4 separate regions of the Homo sapiens genome follow, and all the other regions are linked to region 1. The links are contacts of gene promoters, found by promoter capture Hi-C in blood cells and fetal thymus (Javierre and others, 2016). All regions are on one chromosome and are shown on one strand. The core of a region is centred on a gene start or on the middle of the fragment in contact, and the rest is flanking DNA. Distances in the headings are between cores, read along the strand shown. Region 1 holds the start of ZSWIM2 (zinc finger SWIM-type containing 2). Region 2 overlaps CALCRL-AS1 (CALCRL and TFPI antisense RNA 1). Region 3 overlaps CALCRL (calcitonin receptor like receptor). Region 4 overlaps CALCRL-AS1 (CALCRL and TFPI antisense RNA 1).

The links. Contacts are between HindIII fragments. The CHiCAGO score rates a contact against its expected background, and 5 or more counts as called.
Region 2: a fragment that was not itself captured here is called in contact with the fragment with the promoter of ZSWIM2 in region 1 in 2 of 17 cell types (M1 macrophages and M2 macrophages); the score reaches 5.5 in M1 macrophages.
Region 3: a contact is called between a fragment that was not itself captured here and the fragment with the promoter of ZSWIM2 in region 1, in 1 of 17 cell types (monocytes). The highest score is 5.8, in monocytes.
Region 4: a fragment that was not itself captured here is called in contact with the fragment with the promoter of ZSWIM2 in region 1 in 1 of 17 cell types (M2 macrophages); the score reaches 5.8 in M2 macrophages.

What each region holds. Positions count from the first base shown.
Region 1 is chr2:186,847,835-186,850,534 of GRCh38, forward strand. ZSWIM2 (zinc finger SWIM-type containing 2) reads right to left here and starts at 1,336. Exons shown (of 9, transcript NM_182521.3): 1 at 1,132-1,336. The coding sequence starts at 1,296. The HindIII fragment of the contact is 8,021 bases long and covers 1-2,700 here.
Region 2 is chr2:187,298,147-187,300,846 of GRCh38, forward strand. The region is part of intron 2 of CALCRL-AS1 (CALCRL and TFPI antisense RNA 1); the gene reads left to right. Among named protein-coding and RNA genes, the nearest start is that of CALCRL, 150 kb to the right of the region's middle. The HindIII fragment of the contact is 2,959 bases long and covers 1-2,700 here.
Region 3 is chr2:187,348,228-187,350,927 of GRCh38, forward strand. The region is part of intron 14 of CALCRL (calcitonin receptor like receptor); the gene reads right to left. The region is part of intron 2 of CALCRL-AS1 (CALCRL and TFPI antisense RNA 1); the gene reads left to right. Among named protein-coding and RNA genes, the nearest start is that of CALCRL, 99 kb to the right of the region's middle. The HindIII fragment of the contact is 2,277 bases long and covers 302-2,578 here.
Region 4 is chr2:187,314,309-187,317,008 of GRCh38, forward strand. The region is part of intron 2 of CALCRL-AS1 (CALCRL and TFPI antisense RNA 1); the gene reads left to right. Among named protein-coding and RNA genes, the nearest start is that of CALCRL, 130 kb to the right of the region's middle. The HindIII fragment of the contact is 3,016 bases long and covers 1-2,700 here.

The DNA.
Region 1 (2,700 bases), core at 86-2,585:
TTTGAGAGTTAGAGCAAAACTGAGTTAATAAAAGAGATTTGAAGAGGTAATTTAGTTTAGGTGATTCAAAAAGGTTGAATAGATTCTACTGGAGAATCTTAATTCTTGATACTAGTCTCTAGGCTTCATTATTTATCTTTGTTAGCAAATTAACAAATTAGGATGGTTTTAAAGTGACCTGCCCTTAGGCAGGTGAAAATAAATCTAATTCCCAAAGTCAGAGAAGAAAAAAAGCAAATATCAACCCATAAATTCCTCACAGTAAGGAAATTCTACTTTGGGGTGGAGCTAAGCACCTTTTGTAAGGTAGCTCATTTTGGATTTTTGTTTGGTGCATTTGAGTCGGTGAATTTATTTAATTTTATTCAAGAGGACAAAATTTATTCACCAAGACTAGTTTGGCTAAAACTATTAAATACAGTAAGTATTGAAGCAACAAAGTAAAAAAAGATGCTTTAAATAAGCACAGACTAGTAAATTGCATTCAATTCTTAAACTTCACGGCACTAACGTAAAATTTTGTAAGTCAACTCCTAGGAGGTAGTGCAGTGGCTAATTTTTGAGTGGTTAAGGATGGGATATGCAATTATGAAATATCTGTGGTCTTTCAGTAAACTTGAATTTTTATTCATTAATATCTTTCCAAGGTATTGCCATTTAAACCATCCTTTAATAGGGCCTTCATACAGTTTCAGAGTGAGCAAAGAGTAAAGGGAAACCTATTTATTTATTTAGAAAATATTTACAGTATGCTAGCAGATTGTAGAATTTTCATTTCGTTTGATTTACAGGACTAAGGACCACTAACAACAGATCCAAGAACACATGTAATGCCAACCAGGTATTCATACGCCTCTGACATTTTCAAGCCTAAAGATCAAGAGCCATCATCTTTTACAAGAGTTGCAGTTTGGTCTTAACCTCCAAAAAAGAAACTTCTAATAAATACTATTTCCTTCTGTAATTTCACGTATTTTAGAGTCTGGAACACTCGTGGGAAGGCGCTTTCGGGGGTGAGGCAGCAAGTATCCGCAGAGATTGTGATGGTGGCTACGCACATTGGGTATGCCAGTGGGGGAACCTGGTGGGCGGGGATGATGGCCAACTGGGGGCGGTAGGGGCGGTAGTTACTCGGAAATCCATGTATTCCGGCTCCTCCTCCCTCAGCAGGAAGCCAGTGGGGCCCATCTCTCGTAGGAGGTAGATGCTGCTACTCAGCGCCTGGTCTTGGTGCCAGCTGAGCCTCTCGCTCAAGTGTCTTCGCCTTTCAGAGGCCTTATAGCCTCGGCGAAGCATGCTGGGTGCGGGCGGAGGCGGCCCCTCTGCTCGGCTCACTGAGGCGCCAGCCGGTCTCCAAGACGACGGCGTGCAGGCTGGTTGCCTTGGTGACGGTGGTTGGGCTCGGGGTGTCCCGGTGTGCCCTGCGCCGAAGAAGAGCGGGCGACAAAGGTGCGGGATGGCATGGATTCTGCAACTCTCCCCAGCCTCCACTGCGTTTCGAAGCGACGCCCTTGACTGAGGAGTGTTTTTAATAATCATCTGGCCGACTTGGAAGCTGGAGGCCGAAGGCATAGCTGTCAATTTTCTTGCGTTCCTTCTGCTTCCTCGGGGCAGAGATGGTGAAATCTACTTGTTAGGACAGTTGCAAACCCGATTGCAGTCTGGGCTCTGGATGCTGAAATTATCCTGTGATGATTCATCATCTTTAACAGAAAGCCGAGGTTACAGAGCCCAGAGTGATTTTTGACGTTCCACAATATTCCACGAACATTTTCTGATTGCTCACTATATGCATAGATTGACTGAGTCTCTGGGGGAAAGATGTAGAAGACAGGAGTTCTAAACCCTAGGAAGTGCATCACCGGTAGTGGCGCCGGCTGTAGTCCCAGCTACTTGGGAGGAAACCAGATCCTTAAGTCATTTCTCTCTGCCTCTCTCTCTCTCTCTCTCTCTCTCTCTCTCTCTCTCTGTGTGTGTGTGTGTGTGTGTGTGTGTTGGAGGGGAAATGGTCTTCCAAGTGAGGGAACATTTTTTAATTGCATGTTTGGGTAGGGGTGGGTGTTGGGGATGGTACAGCCAGAATGGTGGATGGTGGTACGTCCTGAATGGTGGCACAGAATCCATTGACTATGGGTACATGAAACTTACAAATCTGTATACTAAGGAATAAGAGTTTCAAGGTATGCAATGTTTGTACCTCCAATAATTTAAATTGTCTCTGAGGTTTGTTTACCACATTTTAGGGGGAAAACTGTAATAAAGTATGGGTCAACATTTTGAGTCATAATTACTGAAAAAAGAAGCCACATTACTAGAATCTCTATAGGAAATTAAAAGCAGGAGATAGCACTACTTGGAGGTCCAGTAACCTTTGCCTTGGTGGCCAAAGATAGAGCATATTTGTCCTATTTTATCATGGGCAGAAATCATAACTAGATTATGTCAACAGCAGGAGAGTTCTCAGAAAATGGCAAGGGCAAAAGATGAAAGAAGATGATGGTAATGGCAGCTTTCACAGGTGAGACACCTGGATAAACATCATCCAACCCTTAAAGTCTTAGGTCTAAGGTCTAAGGTTTTAATTTACTAAATTTTATTTTTATTCTCCTATTCTGACTAATAACAACTCACATTCATACTACCATACTCCCAACTTTAGAATCAATTTAATGGTACTAGATGTTAAAGAAATACATTATA
Region 2 (2,700 bases), core at 110-2,609, 450 kb after region 1:
GTTCATTATTGCACTGTAGTCAAAATACAGTATTTGCTTCTGGTTTCTCATCTTGTTATGGCTTTCTACATTGTTCTACTTAAAACTCAAGATATTTTCCAAATGTGTCCTAATTATTTTGCTTTTGGCAACCCTAGTCTAATTGCCACTGTCATGTCATCCTCTACTTCAGTACATAAGTCAAGAAGTAGGTATTTAATTCCAAAATGCAATTTCAACCACGCTACTCTTGTACTAAAACTCTTTTAATGGCTGCCTATTGTTTAATTGACTACAGGTTTAAATCTAAGATCTTTTACCAAGAATTTAAGTACCTTTGTGATCTGACTCATGTCTTTCTTTCCAGCCTTATTACTTGTCCTTCTCAGAATTTTTTTCTATGTAATAGTCATTAAATAATAATTTCTTTCCATGTCATGCCCTCATATCTTTGAATCTGCCATTGTTTCCACCCAGAATGATTTTCCCTCCTTTGTCTGTTTTTATATCTTCCATTCTTTCTTGATAATATACTATAAGTATGCAGAAAGGCTTTTTCTTCTGACTTTTGCAGGCACAGTTAGTCTTCCTCTAAAATGTGTTCACAGACCCCCAGTACCACTTTTGGAAATGCAAATATTTGTTCCACTAGACTGTAAGTTATTTGAGTCAGTGCCTCTCCAGGTTAGTAGCGGAAATATAGCAAACATAAATTTTTGTTGAGTGAATGAATAAATAAAGTATCCATTCTACAGGATAGAAGCAGATACAAAACAAACATAAATATCTGTTGAGCAGATGAATGAATAAATAGGTATATCAGAAGGTTTTATTGCAAACAAATAAGAAAAATATGTGTTTATGGTAATTAGTGTATAGCTATGCTTTTAACTTGAATCCTCCTTTAGTTATTGATCATTTCTGATAATTTGGCATAGTTGAGATAATCATGGACACAGGACAAGTTTTATTGCTGCCATTAATTTAAATGTAGGCAGTTACAGTAATTTATCCTGTAAGTATTCATCTTCAGCCTGCTTAAATATTATAGAAAGAGCAATAATTGCTATAGGCAGGAATATTAAAAATGGTGATAGATAGTAGAAACCTGAAAAGGGTTAAATCCACAGAGATCTGAAAATTGGTTAGTTTGTCAAATCAAAAGCATAATGATTGTGTATCAGAAGAGGGCAGCAAAGTGCAGCCCAGGCCAAAAATCTGAACTTGACCAAGTGCCCTGATGTGAGATGAAGAGTATGACTAAAGACCCCTGGAGAGTGAGTGCAACATTTAGCAATAGAGAAGTGTAGGAGAACCAAGAAACTAATCCACTGTCTTTGTACCAAGGGCAGTAGCCAATATAATATATAAAATTTTATAAGAATATAAAAGCAGTATTGTTTTCACTCTCATTATCACATTTTAATCTTTGAAACAATTCTCCATGGCATGGATAACTAGATACTGTGTGTGGGAAACAATACTCAAAGAAGGAACTACTAGGAGAGACCAGAGCCAAGACTACTCTTAGATAACCCAGTCTAGGTGAGCATGAGGAGTGTCAGGTTGAGCAGAGGGAGAGTCTTTAAGGTTTCAGTCTAAAGAACAAAGGCCAAGAGCAGGGTCCAAGTATCACAGCAAAAGGAGAGCAGCAGGAAGCCAGAATTAGGGGACAGGTTGAGAGTCTGGATACATGATAGCTTTTGGATGGGATTGTGGGGATTAATTCTGAAGTCTTGGATAGCATTCCTCCTGACTAAAGATGACTTGTCATGCTTGTATCAGTGTGAGAACTCACATGGCTAAAAGAGATTTGTCCCGTTGGAAAACAAACCTTTTGATATTTCTTCATTGCCCAAAGTTATTAGTATGGCATTTAAAGTTGAGAATGATCTACTAATAACATTGCTATTTGTAGTCTTACTGCCTTCTTCCTATTTGATGCACTTACAGCATTTTATATATATTTCCTTTGTATAATTTAAAACATTGTATTAAACTTTTGGTTGATATATCTTTTCTCCCCGTCTTGTAGTGAGGTTGTTTCCAAAGGTAAATGTAGAATAGTGTTTTGGCTCTCCAGCATTTTTGTTGAATGAGTATGTTATTAGTACTTACCTCAGTATAGATGAATATGTTTTTTGCACTGTCATAGAGCATAACATTTTGCAACCAAATTATAGTTCACTGTCTACTTGTAACTAAAGTGATCATTACAGCCAAAATTAACACAAGTATTTTTGTATTGCAATGACAGAGGGATTCTTTGAATTGGGGCCTTATTATTAGAGGAAGTAAGTCCTAAGAAGCTCTATCGTTCCCATAAGCCTGTCAAAAAACTGCCAATGCTCAGGACTTTAAACATTTCTGCTGTTTTAATAATATTTGCACAAGGGCATAATCAGAAAGCCACAATTAAAATACACATTACAAGTGCTTACCTATCCATCTTCTCCCTTGCCCTCTATTATTTTCGAAGCCCTAATGACAAAAGAGAAAATTGCTCCTACCAGATTAAAACCTTTTGGTTTCTTTTTTACTAATAAACACGTTTTTCCCTTGGCACTCACAAAATGTAAATATTTACTTTGTAGGTTATTTTAATTATTGGATTACTCTCTGAATTATTTGAGTCACACTCAGTGCTTTCTAATTATTATCACACTTGTTTACATTTCTCTTTCTTAAATTTTAATCAGTGTATTTTGTGCTCAGTGAAGT
Region 3 (2,700 bases), core at 190-2,689, 500 kb after region 1:
GAATGGCTTCAGATTGTGAATTTTAAATACATATTCAGAGATTCAAAATAAAAATGACCATTGACCAATTATCTAGATACATCTGATGAGAAATATTTTTGATCCTTATTTTTTGTTTCATAAACTTCTCCTAATTTTGTTACTAAATGCTGAATTGGTTGAGTATGTAATCAATATAGTTTCTGGTTGAGGGGAAGTGGCATATAGCTTTGTATAAAAAATTCTATATAAAGTATGAGAAAAAGCTGAGAGGAAGTAATATCTTAGCTGTGAGTCTAGTACTTATAGTCTTAAAAAGGAAAGCTTAAATTCAATTTGGAAGGAAAATGGCTATTGAAATATATGACTGTTTGCTCTTAAAATATCTACTTTGATTAAGGTCATCACTCTATTTCTTCCTTGCAACTAAATCATCAGAAAAACCATAGAAAGCCAATTTCATGAACTGTGAGGTCTTACTATAGTTAAAAATAAACCTAATTAAAGATCCACAGGCCTTGTAGACTTGTTTGTTTATGTTATTTGCTCTAAGGATGTTACATTTTTCTTCTGCTTCCTCTAATACAATATCACACCTGTTAAATACGACATTAAAGCAGCTACTCTTAATAAACTTTTAATGAGAAAAAATCAGTAGGAGCAAATTTCCATTGTAAGGGAAGATAGCTGGGTGTTATTAAAGATATGAATGTTTTTATTGTTTTATGCATGACCATGTATAAGTAGTAAGGCAAATGTTTAGAATGTAACATTACAACTTTATATACCCATTAACACCCAATAAGGAACTAACTTTATACTCCTTAATGGGAATCAATTTAAAATATTTACGAAACTTTTATAAAAATTCTACGTAGTTCTCATGAAAGAATTTGGGTTTAATTGTCTGTCCTCAACAAAACTTTTTGCTCATCTTATGGAATATCTACCCTCAGGTGTTGTTAAATATAACCTTCTGATGACTAGAGTCCCTAGTTTATGATCACAGTGCACATTTTTGTCTGAGGGCACTAGGGATAAAATGAAAGTAATCCAAGCACTTGTCAAGCCACATTTATTTAACTAGTGAGAAATGCTAATAGCAAGACGTTAGCTAAAAAGTGCATAAAAGGTGGGAAAGAAAAAAACACAAATATTAAGCTAAAGGCAGGCATTTGACCTAATGTGGAAAACAAGAAGGAAACTAAGCCTGAGCAAATGATTTTAAGAAGTACATGACATAGTTGGAACAAAATGAATTTGGCAGTTGTTTCTTCATGTTATGAGAGTGGGAAAAAGTAAGAGGCATTGAGACAAAAAGGGAGGGATCACAGTATTTCTTAAGAAGAGAAATGAATCATACTGAAACAGGGATTGTATCTCCAGAGATGAAGAAAAGGAACAGATATTAGAAATGTTGTGAGGAACTGAAAGATTTGGGAACAACCTAGCTCAAACATTGTGTATTATTGTAATTTTCCAATGTCAAAATTTTCTCAATTTTAGGACATGGCAGAAGATCAAGGTTCTGTGTCCCTTTTGTTTACACAGATCGAGTGTAACAGGAGTGTTAGGCATTACTTTAGATATTCCCTGGGCACTCTTTCTAAATAAAAGAGCCAATTTGGGATTTTGATCCAAAATGATTAATGTTCCTGTTGGCACATGTGTTTTTGAAAATAAGTGATTTGACAAATCAAATAATAAGTATACTGAGAATCTCATGAAGTGGGGCATGGTGCTAAAAACTTTATCTTTCTTAGCTTGTATTTATTTTTCTGAGACCTGTGTAGAGAACTTGCTTTAATTTCCCTTTAAGAAAGATAGACACAGGCTCCTGAAATTTGCCAGCATTTGCCAAAATATCACAGCCAAGATGAAAAGTAGCATCTTTGGTGATTAAATGCATTGCTGTGTTTATTCTACACTGCCTCCTGTTACAAAATATTTTACTAGTGAGTGTGTTTTGAATATTTAAAAATTAGTTCATGGAATTAAAATCTGTTTCTGTAGATACAGAGGTCTACCTTTCCTATTTCATGCATGTTCTTTAGCATGTTGTCCATATCACTCTCATCTATATTTAATTATTACATCCTATACAAGTAGCATTTAGGGTTGTCTAATTCAGTGTATATAACATTAAATTTATAGAGGTATATAATAAAATCTATTTGAATTTTACTATCAAACAAATGATTTATCTATTTTTTGTAACTGCATTCTGTCTATGCTTCTCTGATTTCAGAAAAAGTTGCTCTTGTCTTCTGTATAGCAGAAGAATTATGGAAGTACCACTTAAATGTATGAAATATAGTCTACAATGTGTGGCAACTCTACACCTCATTACAAATAAATAAATATAGATAAATAATAATAATATAAATAAATACGTGTTGAACTTGAGATATATTTTAATTAAAAACTAAACATTGAGTTTTATTATATGTCAAGATGAGGAAGTAAAAATATTACTTAAGCAAGCGCAAATAACATGTTATAGTTTTTCATGATGTGTGCATGATTTCCAATGTTCATTTGTTTTATAGGAATGGTTGTCATAGGTTATACCAACTGGTCCCATGTGTTCCCCATCTGAAGCTTTATGATAAGCTTCACATTATCAAGTGTCTGTGTCTCACTCAGCTGCTGTCTGGATTTCTAAACTTTGTTCAATTTTGCCAAAATCCTCCTACAGGTTAAATTGTGTCGAGCAGATTA
Region 4 (2,700 bases), core at 183-2,682, 470 kb after region 1:
ATTTAGGGGCAGCATGTGAGTATCTACAGAGGGAGAGGAAACCTCAGCCAGAGGAGTTCAGATAGGAGGGAGAAATAATGCTCTAAGTGAAAGATTCTAAGGAACTGAACTAAGGCAGTTGAAAGGAAGACAGGACAGACATTAGTGAGAAAAAATTAATAGTTATAGAGATTAATTGAACATAGATACTCTGGAAAAGGGAGGAATGTAAGAGGATTTCTAAAATTTGGGCTTAAGCAAATACAGAAAACAGTAACACCCATTAAATGTAGAATACTGGGGGAGATCAATATCAGTAGGAAAAGTATATAGTTCTATTTTAAACATATTGATATGAGATGACATTGGGATATTAGGTTGGTTTTTCCAACAGCTAATCCTGCTTTTCTTTCTTTCTTTTTCTTTCTTACCTTCTTCCCTCTCTCTTTCTCTTTCTTCAATATAAGTATGATATTTGACGCCATGACACTGATTTGGATCACCCAGAGAGAGTGACTATAATTGGAGGAGGTGAGCAAGGGAATCCAGTAAATAACCTGCATTTAAGAGATGTGTAAAAGAGGAACAGTCAGTAAAGGTGACAGTGATGAAATGATCACAAAAGGAGATGGGGAAACAAAAATTCAGTGATGTCTTAGAAGTTAAGGAGGAGAGTTTCATGAAGTCAAGTCACCAGATTTAGTAAGTTCTTCAGAGACCAAAAAGTAAAAGAATATTGGCGACCTTGGCAGAAGCAGTAGGGTGAAACAGTTGAATTCATTCATTCATTTATTTATTCAACAACCATTTGTGAAAGGTCTTCTATGTACTTCGGCTTGAGACACAAATTTCTGTAATACTTATCATCACGTACATTGCACTGAAATTAGGATATGTCTATTCTATCAACAGTTTTACTCACAAAGTAGTTCATTATGGGTAGATGATCATGGTTACATTCAGTCTTTACACTGCATTCTTCTTTTAAAAATGATGTTTCTATCAAATATGTGTTTCATTATATGACATATTATTATAATATATATTATATGTATAATATATAATATATATTATACATATGTATGTATTATATATATAATACATACATATATATTATTTTCATGTATATATTATATATATACATATATATGTATATAATATATACATATATTATTTTCTGGTCTATAACCTCTTAATGAATCAAAGACGTGAACCAAATGAGGATCTCTATCAAAGTGGTTACTTAATATTTAGATACTTGAAATAAAATTTCTACAGAAAATTTTCCCATTGATCTTCACCCCTGTTCCCTCTCGCCCCACCACACACACACCCATTATCAGCAGCCACACATTATTACCTAAAATTCTCGGATAAAATGGAAATTGTACAATTGAACTTTTAAATTTAACAATTAGGAACACAAATGTTTCACTCATATTTTAACTAGTAGTACTTAAAAACAAATGATGTATTCAGTTATAATTAATATAAAATTCTAGTCTCAGATAAAATCTCTCACATTCTCACTTATGGCTATATGACTCTTAGACAAATGACTTAAATTCTCTTAACTCCCACATAAGTAAACTGGGAATTACAATACATGCTTTGCAAAGTTGTACATTAATGGGAAATAAACTAATATTTAAGAAATAGCTAAGAAAGAGCTTGGCATATAAAATAATAATAAATGGTGATTATTAATATAACAAAGTGCTTATTAAAATATATAATACACAGTAGCTGTTTAACAAATCTAATCCTAAAACTATGTTCTTCGAAATGTCCTTCATTATTTAATATCCCACTAGGCATTATAAATATCTTAACTGATTTAATTAATACAAAATTTATTTAAATGGTTATTTTTTCCTCCTTGCTGAATAACAAAAGAAATGAAGACTCAGCAAGTTAAGCAACTTGACTAAGGTGGGGAATGACAGAACTATGATTTGCATGCTGGCCTTTCTAACTGAAAATCCTGTGCAGCTAAACATTGTGTGATCCAGCCTGCTTCTCTTTTGAAACTCCTCACTTTCACCTCTTCCTCTACTTTCTGATTCATTCTATTTTCTTGTATTTTTTACTTCTCATAAATTGTTACCAGGGATCCAGAAAAGCAACTAGTTTTCTAAAACTCCTTTAGAGTATGCTTGCTCCACAGTTCAGTTAATTGGGAAACAAACAGCTTACAGTTTGACTATAAGTGATACTGTACTATAAAATCTTTCCAGGGGTATCAATGATTTTTATTAGATTTGTTAAGATTTGAAGCCAGGTGTGGTGGCTCACGCTGGTAATCCCAGCAGTTTGGGAGGCCAAGGGGGAGGATTGCTTGTGTCCAGGAGTTGGAGACCAGCCTGGTCAACATAATGAGACCTTGTCTCTATCAAAGAAAAAAATTTTTAAAAAAGCCACGAAAATTAGCTGGGCATGAGGGTGTGCACCTGTAGTTCCAGCTCCTCCGTGGGCTGAGATGGCAAGATTACTGAATGCCAGGATGTTGAGGCTATAGTGATCCATGATCTTACCAGCCTGGGCGACAGAGTGAGATGCTGTCTCAAAAAAAAAATTGATATGTCTAACAGTTTCAAATATTTTCACCAAGATAAAGATTTTTTTTCCTTTCCTGACAGATACACTGACTAATCTTTTGATGTAACTGAAAACAATCACTTTCAAAAGTGGTTCCTATGGACAGAAAAATTATAATTAAAG